2 separate regions of the Homo sapiens genome follow, and region 2 is linked to region 1. The links are contacts of gene promoters, found by promoter capture Hi-C in human tissues and cell types (Jung and others, 2019). All regions are on one chromosome and are shown on one strand. Each heading gives the region's core, a stretch centred on a gene start or on the middle of the fragment in contact. The rest is flanking DNA. Distances are from core to core; before and after follow the strand shown. Region 1 holds the start of AASS (aminoadipate-semialdehyde synthase). Region 2 overlaps CADPS2 (calcium dependent secretion activator 2).

What was found. Contacts are between HindIII fragments. The study calls those that stand out against the background at their distance.
Region 2: a contact is called between a fragment that was not itself captured here and the fragment with the promoter of AASS in region 1, in 1 of the 25 tissues and cell types used here (mesendoderm cells).

Annotation. Positions count from the first base shown.
Region 1 is chr7:122,140,597-122,148,278 of GRCh38, forward strand. AASS (aminoadipate-semialdehyde synthase) reads right to left here and starts at 3,653. Exons shown (of 24, transcript NM_005763.4): 1 at 3,565-3,653. LOC102724527 (a long non-coding RNA gene) reads left to right here and starts at 3,818. Exons shown (of 6, transcript XR_007060500.1): 1 at 3,818-3,900. RefSeq lists enhancers at 2,477-2,982, 3,984-4,033 and a silencer at 3,284-3,483. The HindIII fragment of the contact is 13,093 bases long and covers 1-7,682 here.
Region 2 is chr7:122,461,184-122,468,865 of GRCh38, forward strand. All of the region lies in intron 14 of CADPS2 (calcium dependent secretion activator 2), which reads right to left. Among named protein-coding and RNA genes, the nearest start is that of FEZF1, 160 kb to the left of the region's middle. The HindIII fragment of the contact is 4,156 bases long and covers 1,131-5,286 here.

The DNA of each region.
Region 1 (7,682 bases), core at 2,403-4,902:
GGCCAAATGTTCCAACTTTAATCCCCACAGTTAGGAACGTGCTCTTTGTCCATCTATTTTAGATATTTAAAATAATTTCACTACAGCATAATTCAATGACTCAAACCAAAACTATCAAATCACACGGGGGATTTCTGAATGACAAATTATTTGCAATAATCAGGCATATATTGTGATTAAATATTGAGAGACTAAGAATGAGGTAATGTAGTCTTTAGATGAAGAAAATAAGTTCAAGGATGAACAGCGCTAATTATTTATATTCACCCTTCCAAGTAACTAAAAAAAAAAAAAAAATACAAGTATATATTAAAATCCATGGTTTCCCAAGAAGCACTGGTGTCTGTAAATAAGTATGGCAGCTCTATGGCTATGAGTCTTGGCCTACACTAAGTATCCAAACCATAATATTTTTTGGAGAGGTTCAAAAGAGTTCCAGAATTAACACAGCACCAGATGATGGCCTAGAACTAATCCAAATCCCTCCCAATTTCAAGGCTTGCTAGAACTAGGCTTGGGCTTGCATTAACACTGGTCATACTTTGACTTCCTGTGCGTGGGTACATTCTTTTAATGCTTCCATGTTAAACCCTCTATAAAATACTTTACTGGATTAAGAAGAAAGTGGTAGACTTTGGGGGAGGAGGTCTATTAGTGTTAACTAATCTGGTCTGAGAATTTTCATATTTTCTCCAGCCCATCACCTACTCAAAGTCATCCATAAACATGACACATATTTCTCCTGGTCTCTAGCTTATAATTTTAGCTTCATTGAAATGGAATACAAAGTTAGTTCTAAATCGGAGTCTAGTCCAAAATGCTTATCTGCTTACTTGTCTGTCTCTTTGCTAAACTGCAAATGTGTATGAGTTGTGTTTTACTCATCTCTGTATTCCCAATGACTGGCACATGGGAAAACAGCAAGTGTTTTAAGAAAGAATGAATAAATGAAAAAGCAAATTCAATAAACATTATAAAGACCTATGCAGCAAGAAAACAAACAAACAAACAAACAGATAAAATAGACACATTAATAAGAGACTCACATCCCCCTAACCCTGCAAAAAAAAAAAAAAAAAAAAAAAAAAACTTGATTCTCTTCCAAGATCTCATAGATCAACAAATGTCGTGAAATATAGTACAGTATAGTGGGAAAACTTAGACATGGGAGCTGGGACACATAACTAGATGTAGGGTTCCTCCTCTTGACTTCAGTTTCCTTACCCAGACAAAAATATAATACTAAAGTCCCTTTCAGGCTCTGATATTCTGATTCTATTAAGCATAGTAGTAACTGGACACTGAGAATTACAAAAACATTAGAAATGTAGAACATAAATAGGCACTCTGACTTATGAATTTCTAGCTAAAGTACACCAAACAGGGAAACAAAATACCAAAAACACAATCAAGAAAGAGTGGACATTCACCTAAGCTACCTGCATTAATAGCATGGACCAGGAACCAAGAGCTTGCAACAGAAGATGGATACCTCAAAGGAATACTGGTTTCTCTCCTGGGTTCCTCAGCGGCCAAACTTACTCTGTGACCTTGGCTGGCAACTTAACCTGTCTGTGCATCATGCGCAAAATGAGAATCATATTAACCTCTACCTCTTAGGGCTCTTAAGACGTTTAATTGAGCTAATATGCATAAAGTGCTGAGCATTGCTGTGTGTCATAAACAATAAATTTTAAGAAAAGAAAAAGCCTCCAGGCTTGCCTACTCCTCAAAAGCGAGCACAACCACGCCGCTAACAGTAGACTCACATTTCTTTCCTCTGTCACACTGTAGTAAGACCTTCACGATGGCTCCATATTAATCCCCCACCCTTACATTATTTTGGAAAAAAAATAATTAGAGCCCAATAAGCCCTCTCTTCAACTTCAAACTTCAGGCATGCATGTTCAAGATAAATAAATTACCATTTTAATGTTGTATTTCATCAAATTTAAGACAATTTTTTTACACATTTTAGCATCAGTGAAATAGGGATGCATCTTACAATAGATGACACCTTAGATCAGATGAATGTGGTAATAATGTTTTGGGGTTATTTTCCATTCCAAATGTTTGTTTCCATGATTTCATGAATTGCATAGAATCTTTTGTAGCCTTCCCAAGAAAACTTACCACTGTTTGTAATGTTATTTCTATGAGAAAATTAATAAAAGAATATATGAAAAAAATGAAAATGTTTTGTTAAATGGTGGCTTCTTAAACACCAAAGATCATTTCCAAAATTCCGAACCAAGGTCTGTTAAACGACTAGTGAGAAAAAAAATTCAATGACAAATAAACCAAAGTTCTGATCACGCCATCATCAATAACAAGTGAAACTGATAACAAATATGATTATCTGAAGAGTGGGAAAATGATTCAGGTAAATTGGCTTCAATTTTTGTCCACCTAACTCATTTTGCAGAATGGCCACCAGGTTACACAGTCAAGTCATGTAGCCCTAGATTCACTCATCTTCATGGGAAAAAAAGAAGAGGGGAGTGCAGGGGACAAAACAGACAAACCCAGAAACACCAAAGTGCCATCAGTGTTTTGGGATTTTTTTTAATACAGTATTGGAAAGCCGCAGCTTCAGTCAAGGACCATTCCGTCCTGTGTATAACTACATCTCACAGCTGCACCTTCCCCACTGATAACCCACAACATCAAAAAATGTTAATCCTTGTTCAAGTTACTGAACTAATTCATTCTCTCTCGCGCTCGAGCGCTCTTTCTCTCTCTCTCTTCCGCTCCCCCCACCCCCATTCCCCTGAAATCAATGTCTGAAAAGCACATTTCTTCTTCTGAAGCTGTCAGGATAGACAGACATTCAGCCCCATTCAACCGAGGAGGGTGGGTAAACTGCTTCTCCCCGCGCCCCGTCCCGCGCGAGCGCTCACAATGGGCTGCATAGTCCCGCAGGGGCTGAAGAGTTCAGGAAACCCAGACTTGCAAGGCGCCCAACTTCCACCCATCTCCGATCCTTGCTGGAGAATGGGTCTGTGTCTCGGAGAGTGGGCAGCCCAAGATGGACAAGGAGAGAAGTTTGTGATCAGTTTGGCTAAGCTGGGCGTGGGGAGGGAAGGGGGAAAGAACCACCCCGAAATCTCCATCCACCGCCCCCTCAGCCAGCCGTCCCCTCTAAGCACGCCGTCCACAAATTAACAAGCCGTTGTTTCCTCAGCTTCATCAGTTCTTTATTCCCCAGCCACAGCACCACCACTGTCCGCCAAAAAAGAAAGAAAAGAAATCCGAATTGCAATCCCTCGCCTTTCTACTTAGAAATGCTGGAGCTGCGCTGACCGCTCTCCCTCCCTTCCTCGCAGTGAAACTCTCTGCGTTTCCGCTCTCCCTCCATTCCTCGCAGGGAGGCCCGAATGCTCGCCGCCTTCTCCCTCTCTCGGCCCGGCCGGGGTCGCCTCGCGGCGCCGGGACCCGAAGGCCAGGCTCGCGGGCCCCTCCCAGCGACAGCCCGAGCCCGGCCCGCTATCTCCACCGCATCTCACAGGCTGAGCCCACCCGCGCGTCTGCTCAGCTCTCCGCGGGGACCTCTCCTCTCCTCACCTCGTCCGCTCTGGGGCGCCGACTTGTCCCCCGCCGCCTCGAATCTTCCGAGTCGCTGCAGGGGAGGCTCCGAATTCCTAGAAGAAACTGGGATGGAAGGCCGGGAAGTAGGAGGTGTTTGCTCAACTTCTGAGGACGTCACGCCTCTGCCTCCCGTAGCCAATCAGCAGCCGCCCTGAGGGAACAACCTTCTCATCTGCCAATCGGCGGCGCTGCCAGTTGCTACGTCATGCCCGGCCCCTGCTCCTCCCCAAGATCCTTCTGTCTCTGATCTCTGATCTCTGACCTGCGTTCTTAGCTGGGACGTCGAGTTCTCCCAGGATAATTATCGACCAGGTTTGTAACTGTCCGTGGCAGAAGGCGGGCGGGGACGGAAAGCAACGAAAATAGTCTGGGCATTACGCTCTAAATAGAGGTGCACATCTCCTGGGGAAAAGTTGCGAGCGCCGGTACCTCACGTTTGTTTAGCTATAGACACTTTTCAAAGCATTTCACCGCCTTGTCACAACCCTGTGAAGCCAGATAACAGTTCTTACAACAGTTTTAGAAGCCAGCAAGCGGAGAATCTGAGAAATTAAAACTGAGTGTGTTCATGTGCATATGGCAATGTCCAATGTTATTGAAAAGTCCTAACTACCTAGGAGGCCTGGAGGGAGGGGGAAAACGTATTTCATAGACACTAGCCCCAGCACTAGGAACTGAAGAATCGTCTGAAGCCCAGCTGTGATTCCCCAAGGCGTCAACGGTCAGAAGTTAATCTTCCCTCCTGTTTTTACAACTTTCTCCACCACTTACTCTTCTTATACCTGCCATAGATGTATTTAGCTACTGAACTCCTATGTCAACAATCTATAGCCAGAACGTTCTTGAGACTCCACTCATATCTCCAATTGCAGAGAAAATTATTTATTTATTTATTTGTGGTAGACATGGGGTCTCGCTGTGTTGACCAGGACACTGGTCTGGAACTCCTAGCCTCAAGCTATCCTCCCACCTCGTCCTCCCAAAGCACTGGGATTACAGGTGTTAGCCACTGTGCCCAACCCCAAATTAGAATTTTATCTGTAAGTAGAGTTGGAATTTTCTTCTGTATCTTCAGCTTCACATTTCCAAAATCGGATCCCTTATCATTCTTGGAAAGTCTTCCAAAGGCTGTGTAGTGGTTCACACCTGTAATCTCAGCACTTTGGGAGACTGAGGCTGGAGAATCACTTGAGCCCAGGAGTTTAAGACTAACCTGGGCAACGTAGCAAGACCTGTGTCTACTAAAAATAAAAATAATAAAAATAAATAAAATTTTAAAAAGCCAGGTGTAGTGGCACATACCTGTGGTCCCAACTACTTAGGAGGCTAAGGTGGAAGGATCACTTGAGCCGCAGGATGTTGAGGCTGCAGTGAGCCATGATCATGCCACTGCACTGTAGTCTGGGTGACAGAGTAAGACCCTGTCTCAAAAAATAAAATAAAATAAAGCCTTCCCTTTTGTGCTCACCAGCTCTGTTACTAATATCACTGCCTTCCTACTCACCACCTATCCAGACTTAAAAAGCCACGGTCACTTCAGTTCTTCCTCTGGCCCCTCAGCCTTACCCTTGGTGTTGACACTGTCCTTTAAAAACCCCACTACTATCACCCTACTTCAAACCCCTTTTTATATATAACGTAGACCATATTTTTTTAAGCATACAACTCCAATTGTCTCATTGGCCTAAGCAAAAAGCCTCAGAGACTACCCAGTACTTGTGGAACATTAGCCCAACGTTCTTCACATAATGTTAGTTGCTTCAGATGTGGCCAAAATCAATGACCTTGGCTTTATTTCTGCAGCAGAACCAGCCTGAAACCACCACTGAAACACAATTTATGCCTTGCTATCTTCCTAAGGATTAAGCATCTGGGTAAGAATGTAAGAATCCTTACTCTTCTCCTTTGAGTTGTAAATCATGGGCAAGTTACTTAGTTTTCAAAAAAAGCCTGTGCTCCATTATCTGTTAATGGGTTAATAATAGCCACTACTTCGTGGAGTCATGAGAACAAAATGAGATAATGGCCAAAGTGCCCTGTTAATTGTCTCACTGAAGAAACTGGAAATCATTATTTATTTTCCTCCAAATACCTCATGTTGTAGACTTATCTGTAATTCTAATTTACAAAAATATTCACCTTTCTAAAACTAACCAGCCCTTTGGGGTTCAGCTCAAATGCCACTTAAATAATGAAAACTTTCCTGAATATTTCAACCACATGTGATTGTTTCCCTTCTCCCTTGTGTATTGGCCTCTCTTATTGTACTTATCACATTCTTCCTTTTATCACAGTTATTCATACTTACCTTATCCACATTGCTCAGCTCACCTGTCATCACCACCATAAAATAAGAATATGTACGTGGACTTCCTCTTTTCTTTTCTTTTCTATTTATTTATTGCTTCTAGTACGATGCTATGCGTGTAATAAGTCAGTTGGGGTCTTAGCAGGAAATAGGTGGCACAATCCAACTGGGTAAATTAGGAGACACAAAAGGACTGAGTGTATGCAGGGATAAAGGAAAGTGGCAGTATATGTGCCATGTAGTCCCTGGGACTAGCAACACTGACAATCACTCGTAGGCCTAAACAGGGCCAGGGAAAGAAATAATTACCAGAACTCAGGAATAGTTCTACCTGTAGTGTAGCTGTAGCTGTAGCTGTAGAGAGTGCCATTCAACCAACAGTAGTGGTTTGTGACAGGAATAAAGCTGCCTAAAGATTAATCCTGCCGGCCGGGCACAGTGGCTCATGCCTGTAATCCCAGCACTTTGGAATGCCAAGGTGGGCAGATCACCTGAGGTCAGGAGTTTGAGACCAGCCTGGCCAACATGGTGAAACCCTGTCTCTACTAAAAATACAAAAATTAGCCAGGCATGGTGGCAAGGGCCCGTAATCCCAGCTACTTGGGAGGCTGAGGCAGGAGAATCGCTTGCACCCGGGAGGAGGAGGTTGCAGTAAGCCGAGATGACACCACTGCATTCCAGCCTGGGTGACAAGAGTGAGACTCCATCTCAAAAACAAACAAAAAAAGATTAATCCTACCTGAAGAGGAACCTACCTAAGGCAGGGGTCAACAAACTTTTTTCTGTAAAGGGCCAGAAAATAAATATTTTAGGCTTCACAGATCATACCATCTCTGTCATGTCATGACTACTCAACTCTGCTGGCTGGAATGTAAAAGGCAGCTATAGGCCATATTTAAATGGATATGTGTGGCTGTGTTTTGATAAAACTTAATTTACAAAAGTAGGCTGCAGGGCAGATAGGGCCTCTGGGCTACAGTTTGCAGACCCCTGTTCTTCCATAGGGAAGGAATAATCTTACTTCACTCTCCTCCTGCCCCTTCATCTCCTGCTGATGGCTTCTACTATTTGGACATAAATAGAGCCAGATTGTTAGTGAAGTCCAAAAAGATCACCTCCCATTCTGGGGGCAGAGCAGGTGCAGAAAGGGACAGAAATTCTAGAGGGTTCAAAGGAGAATATTCAACACAAAATGTTTTCAGCAACTACTTGTTGAAATGAATGAATCGTATGACTGGTCACTGTGAATCCCACTGCAAATGATTGAACGCTCATGGAAAAACTGCTGAAATTTAATTCCTAAGTAGGAAAAGCTGGGAAAGGGCCCTGGACCATCATGACTTCAACAAGGACCTGAGGCTCAGTGTGCTTCTCTCTTGCTTTACTTTAGGAATTTTGCAAAATATACACATGAGAAATACTGGTTCTTGAAATGAGGAATTTCAAACATTTTTCAGTGTAGTGACATTTGTTGTAATGAGTGTGACAGATCTCAGAAATTTCTTTATAATGAAAAGGGATAACAGATGAGAGACAAAAACAAACCTTGGATACCCCTCAGGTCAGCTCCTGCAGTCAATCCCTCAAATGTTTTTAATAAGGGAGACCTCTTCCATCCACATTGGGTGCTGAGTCCGTGCTCCTGAAATTGGGAAGTTGATTCTAGCCACTCAGGCTGCCTCTCTTTCTCCCACCTACTTTGGTTTTCTCTCTTCCCCAGTCATTCTCTATTTTCGTCTGGTTCTTCCTGTGAGGTCCTGAAAGGTAGTGGTTTGGCACTTGAGCA
Region 2 (7,682 bases), core at 1,959-4,458, 320 kb after region 1:
CTGGAAAAATACGTAGATAGAATACATTTTAGAGACATTAAAAGATATAGAAGATAAAATGCCTAGTACATGGGTAATTGGAGCTTCAGATGAGAAGAAAAAGATTGTAGAAGAGACAATATTTAAAGAGATAATGCTATTCCAGAACTGATGACAAATATAAATCTTTATATTCCAATCAGGGTAAATAAAAAGAAATGCACACCTATACAATATCATGGCAGGTAGATTAGAAATTCATATATGTCCCAATCACAATAAATTAAAAGAAATCCATACAAAGAAACCTTACAGTGTACTTACAAAACACAAAAGAACAAAAGAATCTTTTTTTAAAAAAAGCATCCAGAGGAAAAAGAGGAATCATCCTCAAAAGACTAGCATTTGTACTGCCAAGAGCCTTTTTTGTTGTTGTTTTGTTTTGTTTTTTAAGATGGAGTCTCGCTCTGTCACCAGGCTGGAGTGTAGTGGCGCCATCTCGGCTCACTGCAACCTCTGCCTCTCAGGTTCCAGTGATTCTCCTGCCTCAGCCTCCCAAGTAGCTGGGACGACAGGTGCGTGGCACCATGCCTGGCTAATTTTTGCATTTTTCAGTAGAGAGGGGGTTTCAACATATTGGCCAGGCTGGTCTCAAATTGCTGACCTGGTGATCCACCCGCCTCGGCCTCCCAGAGTGCTGGGATTAAAGGTGTGAGCCACCTCGCCTGGCCTGCCAAGAGCCTTCTTAATGGCAACAAAGAAAATCAGAAGAAAATGAATGTCTTCAAAGTTCTAAGAGAAAATAACCATCAACCTAGCACTGTACACCTAGCAAAACTTTCTTTGAAAAAATAGGATGAAACAAAAGAAATTCCCAATAACAATTCACAGTGTATAAGAGTCCATTTATAGGAAAGTCCAAAGAACATTCTTCAGAAAAAAGGAAAATTGTTTCTAAATCTAAGCAAATACGAAGTACAAAATAAGAAAGATAATATTAATTTATAAGCTTAGGAAAAAAGGATATAACTAAAATACCACAGAATTTAAGTATGTAAGCCAGAAAGGGGGTGACTGGAGGGTAATATTCTAAGGACTCTGAACTACCTAGGAGGAGAAATTTGTTAATTAGCATAAGACTTTAAAATTTCAGCAACATGCCTGGTAAATCTCAAATGTAATTGTTGGAAAATATAAACTGTTAAGAGAAAAAAAAAGAATTAAAGAAAATAACTTCAATGAAACAAAAAGTATACCAATAAAAAGTTTATAGAACATGAGCCAAAAAAGAAAGCTTAAAATAAAATGGTAGAAATGGATTTACTTTTATTAACATGTGATTTACTTTTATTAATATGTGATTTACTTTTATCAATTACATGATAAATGTAAATGGACCAAACTAATTAAAGGACAGAAATAGTCATATTGAAAAATTAAATCAAAATCTAGTTTGCTATTTATAAAACACTAAAGTACAAGAATATAGAAAGGCTAACGATGTGAACATGCATCAGATAAACACTCATCAAAAGAAAGCTACATTAATAATCACCTACATATCATGCAAAAATCATTATTAGTTATGATGATCATCACCAAATGATGATAACAATGTTCATCTACCAGGAATATCTAACAATCTTAAGCTTGAACACAGAACAGCCTTGGGCCAGGCACAGTGGCTCATACCTGTCATCCCAGCAATTTGGGAGGCCAAGGAGGAAGATCACTTGAGCCCAGGAGTTTGAGACCAACCTGTGTGACATAATGAGATTTTGTCCCAACAAAAAGCAACTCCTCAAAAACCAGCTTCAAAATATACAAAGCAAAAATTTACAGAAATAGAGAGCAAAAACCACCATGACAGTGGTAAATCACCACTCACGTTGGTCATAACCCCACAGATCAAACAGGCAAGAATTAGTAAGACTTTAGAAGATCTTAACCACACAAATCCTGTTTGCACTGCCTAAAGAATACATATATTTTTTTTTAAGTGACAGAAAACATTTATAATATTTGACACATATTTGGCCACAAAGGAAATCTCAACAAGTGATAAAGAATTGGTATCACACAGATCACATTCTCTGAACACAAAGGAATTAGGTAAGAAATCAGTTCTCAAGAAAATAACCAAAAATCTTCATATTCTTAGATTTTTTTTTTTTTGAGGTGGAGTCTCGCTCTGTTGCCCAGGCTGGAGTGCAATGGCATGATCTCGGCTCACTGCAAGCTCCACCTCCCAGGTTCATGCCATTCTCCTGCCTCAACCTCCCAAGATATTTTAAAACGTACTTATAAATAACCTTGTGTCAATAAATTATGAAAAGTTAAAATTACTTAGAATCAATTTTAATTAAATAGTACATAAGACATTTCTATATGTAGTAAAAACAGAATTTAGTGGGGGAAGTTACAGCCCTAAACTCTTAGAAAAGAAGAAAAGCTGGCAAGTAGTGAGTTACACATCTAACATAAGAAGTTAGGAAAGATGACATAACCTCACTAAGGAGGGTGGGAGAAAAAGCTGCTTTCCTATTCATCTTTGGCAAACAGTATTTTGACTGGAAACTGAAAGGTTTTGTAGACAAGTACTATAGCCTAGTTGGTGAATTCCAAAACTGCTTTGCATGAAGTTCAGGGGTTGAACAATTTTGTAAATGGATGGTGGAAGTAAGATTTCTCACTGTTGAAAAGATAAGTTAAAGATAAGGAAGAAAAGCATGCTGAAATGAATGTTGATGTCCTAGATTCCAGTTGGAGACGTCAGTATGAACTCATGGTTTAGTACACATCATATATCACCTAGCTCTGTCCAACTGAGAGGGCCTGGAAGCTATGATTTTTCCAGCAGAAATAAACACACATGTCACCTAGATCTTGGTTTCTAAATACCATTCTCTAAAAAACAAACAAACAAACAACAACAATAACAAAACCAGAGCTCCTTGGAGAACTGATTAATTCTTAGGCTAGAGTAGGGAAAATAAAAGATGAGCTTGCAGCATGTCAGATTGCCAGAAACTAAGAAAGTGCTCAAAAACCAAATGAGTGGGGCATATCAAAGGGAGCCAGTATAAAAGAGCTTTCAATAGCTACAGCAGGAACAATCTGAGCAACAAAGTAATTTAGATATTATTAGATTGTAACCCAAGGTATAAAGCAACTGCACATGAATCTATACGGATATAAACAAATGGTTAAATAAATAAATTGGAAAGAAGAGACATATATTCCTTACAGAAGAATTCTGAATAACGTATGCAGATAGTTCTCCTTCTAGGAGTTGGGGTTTATTTCCTGTCTCCTCTTCAGTGTGTTTTATTGGACTTAGCTATTTTCTTCAAACTAGAGTATAAAAAAATAAAAATGACATCTTTACAGTAGAGAAATGTGACAAATACTACCAGGATGTCACGCGGATATTATGTACTCCCTGATAGAATGTGATGAGAAGGGTATTTCATCTCTTTACAAAAACTCATAATCTCAGGCTAATCATGAAAATGTCAGACAAACCCAAACTGAGAGACATTTGATAAAACACTTGACTAGTACTCCTCAAAACTGTCAAGGTCACAAAAAACAGACAAAAAAATCCCTAAGAAACTGCTACAATCATGACAATTAAGTGCAACTTGGTACCCTGAATTGAATCTTGGAGCAGAAAAAAGGACATTAATTTAAAAAACTGGTGAAATCTGAATAAGGACTGGTGTTCAGTTAATACTAGTGTGCCAACGTTGATTTCTTAGTTTTGACAAATGTATGACAATAACATTAAGGGAAACGGAAATACGAAAACTCTATGCACTCTTTTAGTAACTTTTCTGTAATCTAAAATTATCGTAAAATAAAAAGTATATCTAAAAAAGAAACAATAGAGTTCAACAAAGCCAAAAGTTGCTCCTTTGAAAAGACCAATAAACTTGATGGATTAAGAGAAAAAAAGAGAGAGAAGGTAAAAATGAACAATATTAGACTGAGGAAGGGAAGAATTGTAGATCGAGCAAAAAATACAAAGAAAACAACTTGAATAACTTAATATCAATACATTTAATAACTTAAATGAAATCTACCATTTCCCAGAAAATCATAACTTGCCCAAACTGACTCAAGAATAAATAGAAAGCCTGAGAATTTCTGTAGCTACAACATAAACTACAACAGTTAAAAATCTTTCCACAAATAAATTCCCAAGCCCAGATGGTTTAAAACAGGGGTCCCCAATACCCGGGCTGTGGACTGGTACCAATCCATGGCCTGTTTGGAACTGGGCCATACAGCAGGAGGTGAGCGGCAGGCAAGCGAGTACTGCCTGACTTCCACCTCCTGTCAGATCAGTGTCGGCATTAGGTTCTCACAGGAACCTGAACCCTATCGTGAACTGTGCATACAAGTTATGTGCTGCTTATGAGAATCTAAGTAATGCCTGATGATCTGAGGTGGAACAGTTTCATCCCAAAACCATCCCCATCCTACCGTTCCACCCCATCCATGAAAAATTTACCTTCTATGAAACCGGTCGCTGGTGCCAAAAAGGTTGAGGACCACTGGTTTAAAAGATGAGATACTGGTAAACTACAAAAAGCCATTCAAGTCTTATACAGAGCAAGTGGGAAAGCTCCCCAGTTCATTTTGTGTGGCTACAGTAACCTAGATACCCAATCCTGATAAAACCAGTATGAGAAAGTAAAATAACAAGCCAATTTTGTACGTCAACATAGATCTACAAATATCAAACTGGGACGGCAATGGTAGTGGTAAATAACACCTATGTACATATAGAGCTTTCTTTGATTGTTTCTACATACAACATTACATACTGTTTTTGAAAAACTTACTGTGTTAAAAATGATAAGAAGATCCAACTTAAGACCCAAAAACTTTGTCCTATACCTAACTATTGACGAGAAGAAGGCTCTAAAGGTATGAAGTTTAAGAAAAGCTATGTCAAGGTGTAACCCTTGTTTCTGTTCATGGTTAATGTGATATAGTCTAATATATACTAAAAAATTTCCTTTGCCTTGTCTCTTCCTCAGACCTTCAGCAGGCTGTTTTATTTAATATCTCACAAAGATCCAGGAGTTGCACAGTTTGAATGGAAGGTGTGGAAGGAAGACAGAGGAAATTAATTAGGTGGCCTTAGCAACTATTTCCCAAATTGCAGTCTGTCTACATACTTATCCTGGATGACGGGGTTCTAGGCTCCTGCTTTTCGCTGTCTTTGCCACTCCCCTCTGGGGCCACAGTGTTTTCCAGCAACATGGGGGTGGTAGGCGGGGAGGTCCCAGAACTTCAGCACAGCTTTTCCCCATGACCACGGATAGGAGATGAGGTGAGGCACTGACTCAGTGCTCTTCCAGTCTCATTCTCCTGATTGAAACCTGTTTGTGGTATGTTGTCATAACAAAATTCACCTGAGTACTGCAGTGTTTCACAGAACAATCCCCAAAAGCTCATTTAACTAATACACTGCATAAAAAAATTACTACATGCTATTTAAGCAATATTTCATCGTTTAAAAAGTACTTACAGAATTTTATTTGACCTATTTAGGAACCATATTGAGTAGGTAGCATTAATGTTATTACTCACAAGGTACACATGGAGAAGCTGAGGCTCAGACAGATTAAAACCATTTGCTCAAAGTTAAGTAGTTCATCAGTAGAGGAGCCAGAACAGGAATACAGATGCTCTGATTCCTCACTCAGAGATATTTCCAACACACCAAGTCTTTCCCTTCCCCTTTTCTTTTTCTCTGGTTTTGTCTGTTTTGTTTTGAAAGGCACAATTATCTTGCTTCAGTATTGAACTTGAGGTTGGGTGAGTATAAATATTGCTAGGAAAGTCTGCTTAAGGTAGATTTAGGGTTGTTCTACAGTTTTTGATAAAATAAAAAAACTCCTCCAGTAATATTTGAAATATACTCCCCAATACCCATCCCTTCTGCCTTTGCACATTTAGCACATGGCATAAAACCTGTCAGATCAGGTACATTACCTAAGGATAACCTTGCTTATGACCTTTCATCTGGTTGCTCACCTGCCCCAAAAGTGAGTCTCTCCATTTACAACGTGTGTGTCATTTATACTTAATTTCTATATAGTCACATATCTAAAACTAGAATTAAGTGAACACTTTTGATGATCCTACGTGATGCAATTATCTACGTTGTTTCTCAAAAAATGCACACTGTCTCTAAAATTACAGATTGGAAGTTTGAGGCATAATTTCTGAAGTGACAGTCAAGGGGAAATGTTAGCACCTGTGAAGACAGAGGTATTATGATATGATGATTTGACTGATGCCCATTAAGGTTACTTAACAACTTTGTGATATAATCTGGAATCCATAGAAAATTGAGATTATTTTATATATAAAACTACAGTCATGTTGTACTCTTGTGCCCTGTACTTGAAAGCAAGCACATCTGAGCTGGCGTTTGTCAGGCATGCAGCAGCTCTAAGACAGCCCTAGAAAACTGTAGAGGAGTCAGTGAATACACTGTATGCCTTACATTAAATTGGGACATAAAAGCCATTTTGTGTTGCTGCTTCAGTTTCTCCACCCTCAGCCTGACTTACAAAACCAAGACGTATAACCACACATATCAACCTAGAACTTTGCCCTATGAAGCATTGTCTCTGAAAGCCTCTTTTCTCCTTCCTGTCAGTCCTCAGCGGCACTATGGCTGAATGAGTGGTTGTGTTATTCAGAGATGTGTGTGGCTATCATCCTGCATGAGTGGGTCTGTTTCTGTCCTTGACTCACTTTTTCTTTCTTCCTTTCTTTTTCTCTCTCTTCCTCAGTCTTAGTACCAGCCAGACCTTTTCTGTTTAACTCTATTCTTTTATTTCTGAAACACTCAGAGTGCTATTCAGAGATGTATCTGTACAGAAAGAACACACCTAGAGAGCTCAACACTGTGCAATAGGATGTGCTCCCTGAAAAATTTCAAATCCAGACAGCACTGTTGTCCTTCACTTCAGTCAATAACAAAAGGAAATCTTTTCTCCTTTTGAATTTATGACAGAGGTAGTTCAGGTAATGAGCAAAACGACTCTTTGAATATGTGTCTTGACAGATGTAAAAATGATCATAAAATAAGACCACGGCAAACAATGTAGAAAAACCAGACTTGACATTGACAGTATGTTTAAACAAAAGTCTCTATAAATATCAGATGCTACAGACATGGATAAGAGAAGCACATTCTCACAAGGAGAGGTTGCCAAAACCTGAATATTCCATTAACAAAGAAATTAGGAATATAATTACATACACATTGAAATATTTCTATTTAGCATGAGGTACAGTCCTAACTACATACTTTTTACTTTTTTCTTCATCTCACAATTTACATCCTCTTGGGTTAAATGGCAAAGAAAAATATATTAGAATAGTAAGAGTAATCAATACTGATAGTATTTTATAATGATGTAGTACCTTCACATTAGTATTTGCCCCTTTTATGTATGACAACTCTGAGTTTCAGAAAGGTTAAGTGATTTGTTGAACATGGGTCAGTTTGCAAATTTCAGAGCCGGGATTCAAGTGAAGATCTTTTGCCTCTTTCTGGTCTTTCACTGTGGCAGCATAGTATTTCTGAATGACATCTGCTGGACTGTAAACGTCACAGGAAACGTCATAACTTTCAGCTTATCTTGGATTATTTCTATCCTAAATTGAGGCTC